Regions from separate parts of the Homo sapiens genome. Here region 2 is linked to region 1. The links are contacts of gene promoters, found by promoter capture Hi-C in blood cells and fetal thymus (Javierre and others, 2016). All regions are on one chromosome and are shown on one strand. The core of a region is centred on a gene start or on the middle of the fragment in contact, and the rest is flanking DNA. Distances in the headings are between cores, read along the strand shown. Region 1 holds the start of MB21D2 (Mab-21 domain containing 2). Region 2 overlaps ATP13A4 (ATPase 13A4).

Region 1 (5,934 bases), core at 2,754-5,253:
TAAGACCACAAAGCCAACAAGAGGCAGACTGGGAATGAAACTATAGATTTTAACATTTTATTATAATTACTATGATTTTCTCAATCAAAAATTCAAATAGGAGATCTTATTATAGAATACTTGAACTCAGACTGTTCCAGAAATCTACTTATATTACGCTAAAACTTATAGCTAAAATCGAAACAAAATCCTGAAAGAAGTGATTTTTTAAAACAAAGCCTTTCCTCTGGATTTTATGCATCTATTCTTAATAGTCTCAAGTAGGAGAAGAGGAACATGTTTTAGAGTAAGGCTGACCTGAGTTTCAGTAGCATCTCTACCATCTATTAGCTTTGTGACCCTGGATATCCACTTTCTTCACCCCACTAAATTTCAATATCTTCATCTATGTAATGGGAAAGCAATACCTCCTCAAAAGTCTATGTGAAGTTCCTGGCCCTGAGAAGATGATTAGTAAATGATTAACTACCGTAAAAATCATGCCATGGTACCGACCACTTGGTCTGTAGGTTAGGTGACGGCTTGTTTCTTTCCTGCCTTCTCCAGCATCTGCATACCCCCTTTTCTGCATCTGTTCAATGGGGACACAAACCAGTCTCTATCGAACCTCACCAGGGAATGAAGATAACAAAAGAGCTGGCAGAGACATTATGCTAATACCAAATATTATTAAAACATTAATGAACTCTGGCAATTTCCCTGAATTTTGATAAATGGTGTTTATTATGCACTGCCAGCCTTTCGCACAGTCTGGGCTCTCAAATATTAACTAGATAATAACACCAATCATTCTCCTAAAAGACCAAGGTACAGAGGAATAAGAAGTGAATCTAGACAATTGCAGCTAACACCTGCCTCCAAAAAAAAATCAGAATCTCTGTACAAACAGAGAGCATCAGGACAGACCCCAGAGACCACAGTGACCACCAGCAAGCTCAGATCAACCCCACAGCCTGTGCAGAACCCTACTTTGATAAGACAGTGGAGTGTCTTGGTGTTGACAGGTCATTGATTATGACAGCTGTCTACCACCTCCTTGCTCTTCAGTGTAAAATTCCTCCAAACTAGACAAAATGAAAAGGATCTGTGAAGCTGGAGGGGCTTCAGACTTGGCTAACAATCTTACACAAAAAGAGAGTAACATGCCTCACCCCTGCCAACTGCCTGAAACATGAGGCAGTATTTTTCTCAGCTCCACTAAAGAGGCTTGCACCCAATTCGTGGTTGGCCACTTCATTCTGTGTGAGGGGATAATATCTGTAAGCTGCTAACAATCCCCAGGTGCAGCTCAGATACAGAACAAAGCCAAGAGGACTGGCCACCCTCCACCCCCCCGCCCTGAAATGAGGGCCTGGTACCACCCAAGTAACACCTTAACAAGCTAGGGGTCATTAAGAGACTTCATTTGCATAGTCATCAAAGAACCAAAGCTATGGCAAGTGAAACAAAGTGTATAAAAAAAATGATTTTGTTCTTTAAGCCAAGCCAAAATCTGCTTTAGAAAAAGTAAATCCACATAGGAACCCTTGCTGTCGCCAAACCTCCACTTGTGTAGAGCAGCCAGCATCTCATTAAAGGAAAGCAAGGAACTCGCAAATGAATGCAGCACCACACACAGGCAAGCAAGCTCATTTCGCCATCTGCCTTCTAGTGTCCAGAGGGGCAAAAGGCTTAAATGACACTCTCTTGAATCTTCTCTCCTGCAGGTGGAAATGCTAAATTCCCAGGGGGCAAGAAAGACTGCTTGCAAGGTCAACTGGGTAAAAAGGAATAGAAGCAAATCTAGTTTACCTGTCAACACAATGCCACCCATGGCATTAAACACATGCAAAAATTAAGCACCCTAGAATAATTTACTTTTTTATATTTGGATAAAAGCTTTGCTGATTCAGTGTATCAGCTTTGGAGTTAAGCACAGAAGTTCCTCATGAGCCAGGCACTTAAATTTACCCTCCCTACATTATCCCATTTCCTGACCCATGACTACCCTAACTGGTGGTGACCCAGTACCTTCTTCTAGTAAATGACCTACGCAAGTGACATCAGAACTGATCTGGGGGCTGTATTAACACAATGGCAGACTTCCATTATTTATGCCACAGAGAAAGGCTATGATTAACTAAACAACTTAAGTAACTGCGCTCAGCCTTCTGTGTGTGGCCCCACCTTCCTGACAATCACTGTGTTGGCTTTTGGCTTTGTAAGCATTTTAGGCTTCCCTGTGGAAGCTCACTCCTACCAGGTTTTATATATATATATATATATATATTTAATTCATCTATTCATCTACATAGTTGAACGGCTGAATCTCTCAATAGTTTTTCAACCTCATACGCAACGTAAGACACACTTGAAGAGTGCGGCGCAAAAGGTAAAAACCAGCCTAGAGTTTTAACATGTTTCATCTAACTTCCCAACGCGTGAACAACTACCAGCGGACACAGACACGTTCAGTCTGTATTACCCCGTCCTTGGGCAGTGAGGAAGAAGAAAACCTAGAAGGAAGAAGGTATCCCAGGATAGAAGCAGCAACAGCCGGCTGAAACCCAATTAGATTGCAGGAGAAAGAGAAAAGCCCTGTCTTAGTCTGTGGCCAAAAGACCTTTCCCAATCAAATTTTTCAACACCTGGAAAATTGGCTTATCTATTTGTAGAGAGCACCCAGAGACGAGCGTTAGAGCAGCGCTACCCTGGAGTACCAGTTCTTCGGAATGTTGACCGCCGGCCACGCACCGCTTGACAGCCACGGATCCGCTGGCGGAGCCGCAAGTTACAACCCAGGCGCCTGGCAAACTCACACTACACCTCAGTAGCAATAATCCCAACGGCAGGACACCTGGGGAGGGTGGGCTCGGTCTCCCGGGCCTGGCTCAATTATGTTCCTTTACACAGCATTCAATCATGTTTCAGGAGCCGTAGGTGAGGGGCTGGAGGTGGGAGTGGGGGACACATTTTCTAGCCCCCGACGTCTCCGCGGTTGGAAACTCTGGGCACCTCTTTCGGCCAGCGCTAAGACAATACACAAAGAGCAGGGAACCGGCGCTCCTCTGCGGCCAGAGCTCCGCGCCTAGTCACGGAAGAGCTGGGAATTAAGAATTCCGAGCTCAGCGAGAGCCCTGAAGAAGCACCGGAAATGCTTCCGATCGCTTCATAAGAGAAGTCAATTTGCAAATCAAAGTTGCAGGAACTCCGGACGCCTAGACTACTTCAGCGGGTTACTCGGGAACACCCAACAAGTTTGGCCACCGGGGGCTCGGCATGACAGCGCCGCGCCGCGAGACGACAGAAGCAACTTGTCGCTCGGGCGCCAAGCCAGAGCCCTGAGCCGTCTCCGCTCCCAAGCTCGGGAGAGCACCCAAGAGCCGGCGTCGGGAAAGCGGAGGTCCCTGCCTCCGGCAGCCAAATCCCTCAACTGAAGGCACCTCAGGGGCTCACCTGGACTGCACTCGCTTCCAGGGGCTTCCCCCAACAGTGCAACGCTTCACCGCGAACGCCTCACCTGCCTGCCAGCCCCAGGTGGCGGAGAAATTAACAAAAGAGCAAGCGAACAGGGGGAAAGGGAGACCCGGCGTAAAGTATAGTAAGGAGGGGAGGGCAGGCAGCTCGGCTTTCGGCGGAGAAAGAAGAGAGAGGCGGAACAGAGATGGCTTATACCCAAGGCACCGGCTCGGGAAGGCAACCCAGAAGGGAAGAGGTCGAGAAGCGGCAATGGGTTTTCTACTCCGCTTCCCATCACACACACACACGCACACACACCTCCCCCTTTTTCCTCCTTACCCAGCATGGAAAAGATGAAATCCTTGGCTGTGTGAATCTCCAGCGCTCTCTGGTCGTCGTATTCCCGCTGGTCGTGCTTCGTAAATTCTTGGATGAGTTTGTTCAATTCCTCCACCCGAGCTCCCGACCTGAAATCCAGCTCCGGGAACGCAGGCTTGTTGTTACAGCCCAGGGAGGCTGCCTTGTTGGCGGTGGGAGCCGCCATCTTCATGCAAAACGCGCCGAGTAGCAGCTCCGCGGCAGCGCGGCACCCACCCCCGCCCCCCACCCCGCCCCCCTGGGCCTCCTCCCCTCGCAGGCTCCCAGGCTTTGGCCCCGGCTCGTGGGCGGGTTGGCGGGCGGGCGTCTGGGCGGGCAGTCCCCCGCTCCGTGCGCTCTGGGCGTGCGAGCTTCGGGAGGAGCTGGACTGCAGCGAGGGTGCGTGTGTGGCCCCGACACCCTTTTCTCCGGCCCCACGCCCGCCCCGATGCTGCGCGTCCCTGCCCTGCCCTGGCCCTCTCTGGCAGCGGCAACGGCGGTCGTAGAGCCAACTGGAGCCTCCCCCGGGCGAGGAAAGTGAAGTGGAAACAATGTGAAATTCACCAGCTCTGAAATCAACAAGCTGCCGGCTCCGGTGTTACGGAGCCAGCACCAGCGTCTCCATTTAAAGGGACAGCGCACCCAGTGGAAAGGAAAATAAATAAATGACAGAGGTCTGCACGCATATACCACTTGCCAATCCGTACTTGGGAAGACGCGCGAGGTGTGGATGCATTCTTTCTCCACCTCCACGGCCGTCCCCCCATCCCCTTTCTGGGCAGGGTTTGCCAAGCGCATTCAAGGAGAAGAAAGTCTTCCTCCGTTTGATTTTAAGGGCGGTGTCCTGGGGGAGGACATCTCTGTGCGCGTTTACCTCTCTATCCCAAGAACTCCAATACCTTTAAATAGTAAAGGAAACTGCCTTAAGGAATATGAAACCTGTCTTCTACCCTTTTCCTCTTGGATTGCCAAGATGATAGGATTGAGCGTATAAAAAAAGAGGGTCCACATCTAACCCAGTATTGGCACTCCCACTAACCCCTAGATATCCCTACCTTTGCCCAAGGTAATTAATGACCTGAATAACAGCTTATTTATCTTAACATATAATGAGTTAATGAGATTCAACCTACTCTAATATAAAGATAGGGAAACTGAAGTGTGGGTGTGGGAGAGGGGAAACAATGTATTGCCCCAGGTTCCAAGAAATGTTGGATGACAAGATGAAAATTTTCTCATTCAACAGATAAAATTTGAGTACGCACCATTTGCCAGATGGAGTGACAGAATGTGACAGTGATAACCAAAAGACATGGCTCCTACCATGGAGTTAGGCTTACATGACAAGGCAGGTTCAATCTAAGTCATAGTCCTTTAGGCAGAATAGAGTCTCAGAGGTGGTTTTAGTGTTTATGGGGTGTATCATTCAAACACTTAGGAGGCCCATTGGCTGTGAGAAACATAGGTTATCTTCCTCCCTAATTCTCCAAAATCTCTCTTCTCTATCCCACAGTCCCTGATTTAGATCAGGTCTGTTTCACTTTCTTACCCGAGTTCTCATGGCCAAGAATACAAATTGTTTTGTTAGACATGGAAGGAAGTACGGACTCTTCCATGCCTTCCCCTATAAAATGGGAATAATAATTCCTGTCTCACAGGTTGTTTTAAGGATTACGTGAGATAAAACAGGTCAAGCACTTAGTTCAAGGACTGACATAATAAGTACTTAGCTATTATCAGCTTCTACTATTATTGTTATTAATTCTTTCACTGTTCCTCAATCTAGTAACAACTTGTTGCCAGAGTGATCTTTAGAAAACACAGACCTGACCACTGACCTCCCCCTGGAATTCCTCTCTTCTTTACTCCGTTTACACCAAAACCAATCCGCGTCTGCCTTTTTCTTACAGCTTTCCGGAGACCCTCCCCTCAAGCTGGTGGCAACTTTTCCTTCCTCAGAACCTACTCTCAGAAGCTTTCATATGATGCTAATGAATTTTGACCTTGCTTCATCATTGCTTTTTGTTTTGGGTTGTGTGTGTGTGTGTTTGTTTGTTTCTGAAACAGGGTCTTCCTCTGTAGCCCAGGCCAGAGTGCAGTGGCACAATCGTGGCTCACAGCAACCTCAACCTCCTGGGA
Region 2 (5,859 bases), core at 2,005-4,504, 570 kb after region 1:
TGAATGAAGGCAGGAGAAATAAGTCAAAGCAGCAGTTACACGTACAGGTAGAGCAGCAGTTACACGTACAGGTGGAGCAGCAGTTACACGTACAGGTGGAGCAGCAGTCCTTAGAGAGTGGCCTGAGGATTCCTGGGGGTTTTTAGGAATGTCCCACAGGGGCTGAGCAGGTATACCCTTTTCATAATGGCACTAAGGTGTTAATTGCCTTTTAGCATCTTATTCTCGCACAAGTGTACAGTGGAGACGTCCAGAGGCTGAGTGGTGTTTAATATCACAAGAGACTAAATGCAGAAGCAGTTATGAAAATCCAATTGTCGGAAATAAAAAAAGAAATACGATTATCAAAGTATTAAAATCAATTGACATAGAAATTTTTTAAAAGACTGCCACAGTCTGAATGTGACCCAAAATTCCTATGTTGAAATCCTAGCCCCCAAGATGATGATATTAGGAGAAGGGGCCTTTGAAAGGTGATTAGGTCATGAATAATTTCAGTGCCCTTATAGAAGAGACCCAGGAGAGACGCCTTGTCTCTTTCACCATGTGAGGATGCAATAGGAAGGTACCATCTCTGAACCCAGAAGAGAGATCTCACCAGACACTGAATCTGCTGGTGTCTTGATCTTGAACTTTCCAGCCTCCATAACTAAAGAAATAAATTCTGTTGCTTATAAGCCAAAAAAAAAAAAGAAAATCCAATTGTCTTCTATTAAACCAAACATAAAAGAGATTGCAAAAATGTAAAATAATGCCATTCTCCTGCTAAATTATTTTTATTTCAGAAAATACAGTTGTCTTTAAATATATATGTATATATAAATATGTTATTATTATTTTAAATTAATTAATAAATATTTTATGATTCTGAGTTTTAATTCTTAATTTGGTAAATACCAAATGTTTAAAAGATTAAAAACTCTTAGAGATCCTCAGTGATTTTTAAGAGTTTAAAGAGCTCTAGAAACTAAAAAGTTTGTGAACCTCCAGGGAAAGCTTTAAAGTCTGCGATGAGATTTAGAAGTTTATTGTAAGACCAATGGGAATATTTTGAAGCATTTTAGTGATAAAAGCATGTAAATAATCATATTCTGCAAGAATGATGTATGGAGGCCAGATGGGAGGTGATTGCAAGGTAGAAAATTATGCTAACTTGAACCGTAATAGTGGTAGGGTGGAAAACAGTGAAGGATGCCAGGGGATATTTAGGAAATAAAAATCAAAGGACTTTCTGTGTAGTTGAAGGGGAAGAAGAGAGAAAGTTTCAAGGTTGGCAACCAGATTTCTGGCTTGTGCAACAGAATGGTCAGCAGTATCTGCTACCACATCAGATAAACCTAAGTGCAGATTTGAGGAGAAGAGTTCTTGAGTTTTATGTCAAAAGTGTTGAATTTAAGGTAATTTTTTGATATTAAGGTGGGGATATCAAATAGGTTGTTGAAGCTATGAGTCTGCAACTGAAAAGAGGTATCTGGATTTGAGATACATATACAAATTTGAAAGCTATTAGCATATGCCTTTAGAAGTCATTGGCATGTACAGCTATAAAAATAATGAAGAATCTTTTATGCACTTACATGAAAAGATCCTCAAGATATATTAATAGTAATTTTTTAAATAGCAAGTTAGAAAATAATGTAATTATGCTACCACTTACATAAGAAAAAAAGAAAGTACATATATTTGCTTCATTTGCCTAAAAACTTTTTTGGAAGATTACACAAGAAACTAATGTAAGCAGTCGGCCAAGTGGAGTGGGAGAGAAAAATGGAGCCTTTACATTAAATGCATTTTCATGTTGTTTTGACTTTGGAACACTCATTTTTTAAAAGTCAGATAGAGAAGGATGAGCTATCAAAAGAGAACGGAAAAGAGCAACTGGAGAGGATGGAGAGTGTGTTGTCCCTGAAGCCAGGGAAAAGAGTGCTTCAGAAAGAATGGAGCAGTTAACCGTGTCAAATCCAACTGAGAGGTTTAGCGATATCGGTACTGGGGAAAAAAAAATATCCACTGCAGGGGGACCATAACATTAGTAAGCAAAACACCAAGACCTAATAAAAATTAATAAAGGACTCAAACAGTTCCCAGTCAAAGAAATGCAAATGGCTTAAAGTGTGAAGAAATGCTCAACTCGTAATGGAAAACGTGATTAGAGTTACTGAATTCTATTTTCACTTATATTGGCAAAGATAAGAAAAACACTTATCTACTGTTGTAAGGAATGTAAACTGGTATTACTTTTTTATATACATAGAGAGACGAGGTCTCACTATGTTGCTCAGGCTGGTTTGAACTGCTGGGTCTAAGCTATCCTGCCACTTCAGCCTCCCAAAATTCTGGGATTACAGGTGTGAGCCTCCACACCTGGCCAGTATTACTTTTTAAAGAGGCATTTTGACAATATGTTTAAAATAGTGTGCCTAGCTTATGACTAGGTAATTTCAATTGCAGAAATTTTCTATCTCTATATCAATACAGATATTTATAAGCATACATACTTGTTATATACATATGTATAGGTATGTAATATGTGTGCATATGTATATGTATATATAGATGCATGAAAAGATATATGTGCAAGGATGTTCTTGCAGCATTGTCTTAGTAGCAAAAGACTAGAAACAACCAAATACATATCAACATTGGACTGGTTAAAAATTACGGTACATCTAGAGAAAATGTATTTGTGCAGATGCAGAAAGATATTTAGGATATAATAGGTTCAAGTTCAAGTGGAGGCTGGGCACGGTGGCTCACGCCTGTAATCCCAGCACTTTGGGAGGCTGAGGTGGGTGGATCACTGGAGGTCAGGAGATCAACACCATCCAGACCAACATGGTGAAACACCGTCTCGACTAAAAATACAAAAATTAGCCGGGTGTGGTGGCACATGCCTGTAATCCCAGCTACTTAGGCGGCTGAGGCAGGAGAATTGCTTGAACCTAGGAGGCAGAGGTTGCAGTGAGCCAAGATCACACCATTGCACTCCAGTCTGGGTGACAAAAGCAAAACTCCATCTCAAAAATAAATAAATAAATAAAATTCAAGTGCAGAACAGTACACATAGAATATATTCATTCTGTTAAACAAATTAATGCATATGCATTTAATATAACTAAAAGTATACAGAAAATATGGTCCTAGTGGATGTATCTTGAAACAGGACCTGAACACTGGGAAGTTTTCCCAGCGGGAGGGAGCCTTAATTTTTATTCACACTCTTTTGTTCGGTTTGAATTTTATTTTTATCATAGCCATATATTGCCCTTTCTGTTAAGGAAAAAAACAGCTAATTTTAAAAGAACTTTTTAAATTTTAAAATGATCTATGGGCTTTGGGATCACAGTGGCAACCTTAACAAGATTTGTTTAAATGGAGTCATGAGGGAGGAAGACATGTCGGCATGAGTGAAAAGTAAGAGGAAGATGAGTAAGTAATGATAACAGACACAAAGACTCTAGAAGTTTTACTGTGAATGGAAGAAGAGTGATATAGTAGTAGCTGAAGGCAGAAGCACGGTCAAGAGAAGAAATTGTTTTGTTTGTTTGAGTTTTGTTTTTAAGTTGGGAGAACTTGAGAATGTTAAAAGTTGATGGGAAGGCTCTTGAGGAGAGAAGAGAGGAGTCATTCATGGACTGCACAAGCACCCCAGGAAGGTGGGAGTGGATGGTCTCTCAAGCACTGGCGAAGGGCACTTCCTTCACTGGAATGAGAGTTCAGGGAAGGAGGGGGCTGCGGAGATGAGTCATTTGGCACTCGGAAAGTGGGGAGTTGGGCAATTTTCTGTCTTATGGCTTCCATCTTTTTTTGTGAAATAGTGATATCTGCTGAATTAAAGAAAGAGTGGAATATGAGAAGATGGGCGTCTCAGACACCAGAGGACAGAGATGGCTTGAAACCTTAATTTCAGAGAACAGAAGAGCACCTTGATTAGAGATGAACAGAAGCCTTGTCCGGATGAGGTTGGCATTCACGGATTTATAGTGCAACCAACCAATCTGTTCTATGTAATTTTTTTTTTCCAACAGTATCTAGAAACCTGGTGTAGGCATAAAGAAAGTCAGGAGTTGGACTGGGGCCTTGACAAATGAGTACCAGCCAAACATAAACAGCAAAGGAGTTCATATTAAATAGACTCCTCCACCTTCCAGCTCTCTGCCACCATCCTCAAGTCCCATCAGTATTCTCTACATAAATTTTTTCACATATTCACAATTCATAAACCTTTGGATGTTGTTCTGGCTAATTAGTCTTGAGTAAATTAAAGAGGGAGGAAAAATAACTACAAAGGTTAGGGATTGGAATGGGAGGAAAGGGAAAGGACTAAATTGTTGAACACTGGTTACTGTGCTAGGTATTTACAAACTTGCTCTCATTTACTACGGAGTAGGAAGTGACTATTTCCTGATTCTCCTTTCTAACAAATTTTTAATAAAGTCATTATCCTTCCCTTTATGAAACCATAGAATTAATAGAAAAACTCACCTCTCTGAGATCATATACTGTCAAAGATATGGAAATTATGGACATGATTATGATGGCAAAAGCATATTCCTTATAGTCTTCACTAAACCACAAACAGACACTGAAGAGTTGAAATATATAAAATGGATTTAGAACCTGTTGGCAGACATAAAAACAGGAAGACAAGGGAGAGTTTTAGGCTTCACTCTGCTCTTCATTTACTTGTTTTCATAATCATCTTCATGACATACATCATCCCACACAATATTCTTATTATATTTATTCGGCAATTGACACGTGCCAGACACCGCTCTAAGCAACTTTACTTGAATTTTCTCATTGAATTCCCACAGTTACCTTATTAACCAGAAGTTGTTACTTATCTCCTTTGTAATGATAAAGAAACTGAAACTTAGAGCTTGAGAAATACGTCCAAAGTCATGCGACTATGATTGCCACAGACCCAAGACTTAAACACAGGCAATCTGACCCCAGAGCACTTACTTTTAATCACTGCCTCACTTTATAATTTACAAAGTAGTGTCTCATGTATTGACATGTCGGCCATCACAATAGTTATTTAAGGAGTAGATGTTGTCACCTCCTGTCTACATTTACTGGCCTTCAGAAAGGTGAAGTATTAGTTCAGGTTTATAAAGTTAAAATACTTTCTAGTCTCTTCTTCTCTATGATATAACACCTGCCATATTTGAAGTCATTAAGGAACTTGATTAATGGGTGAGTTGAAGACTGCATGTTCTCATAAGTAGAGAGCTGTGCTGAAAGCAGTAAGCTGTAATAGAGCATCTAGAACACTGTGCGAGAGAGTAGCTGTGAACTTCAACAGCTTTAATTCTGCTTTGGTCAAAAACATGCTGTGCCTTTACTTAAATTCCCCCTAGCTGGTTTCCCTCTCTCTAAAACAGGAATGGCAAACCTTTCTTCTGGTTAGAAAGGCAGCACACAGAAACATTCCCTATTGGTTTGTTTTACTTTCTTTCATGCTTGACGGCTTGTTGGAAATATTTTGAAAGTACCTGAAGTTTAGTAAGCTTGTTTTAAGGCAAGGAGGAGTCGAGAGAGAGCACAGGGAAGCCAGAGGACAGCTAGAGGGCTACGGTTTGATAATAATCGCTGTAAAGTGAAACAATGATGAGCTCAGTGATGGGGTCCAAAAGGAAAATTTCATCTTATACCTTGAGATCAGCAGTACTGAGAAGGCTGAATAAATGGTTTTTTTCTTCCTACAATTTTAGGCACCAAGGAAATTGTATCTGTTACCTAACAAAAGGATTAGCTTAAAAAAAATTGAGTTTCATGAAGTTAAAACAAGTTAAGCAGCATAGTATTAAAAAAGAAAAGAAACATTATATTCATCCAGCCATTAAATGGTAA

The links. The method cuts DNA at HindIII sites, captures the fragments that hold promoters and counts their contacts. A CHiCAGO score of 5 or more calls a contact.
Region 2: a fragment that was not itself captured here is called in contact with the fragment with the promoter of MB21D2 in region 1 in 1 of 17 cell types (monocytes); the score reaches 5.1 in monocytes.

Annotation. Positions count from the first base shown.
Region 1 is chr3:192,913,853-192,919,786 of GRCh38, forward strand. MB21D2 (Mab-21 domain containing 2) reads right to left here and starts at 4,004. Exons shown (of 2, transcript NM_178496.4): 1 at 3,778-4,004. The coding sequence starts at 3,988. RefSeq lists enhancers at 842-1,342, 2,970-3,299 and a silencer at 3,950-4,309. The HindIII fragment of the contact is 3,892 bases long and covers 1,877-5,768 here.
Region 2 is chr3:193,485,245-193,491,103 of GRCh38, forward strand. It overlaps ATP13A4 (ATPase 13A4), which reads right to left. Exons shown (of 30, transcript NM_032279.4): 7 at 4,486-4,620. Among named protein-coding and RNA genes, the nearest start is that of ATP13A4-AS1, 65 kb to the right of the region's middle. The HindIII fragment of the contact is 4,520 bases long and covers 995-5,514 here.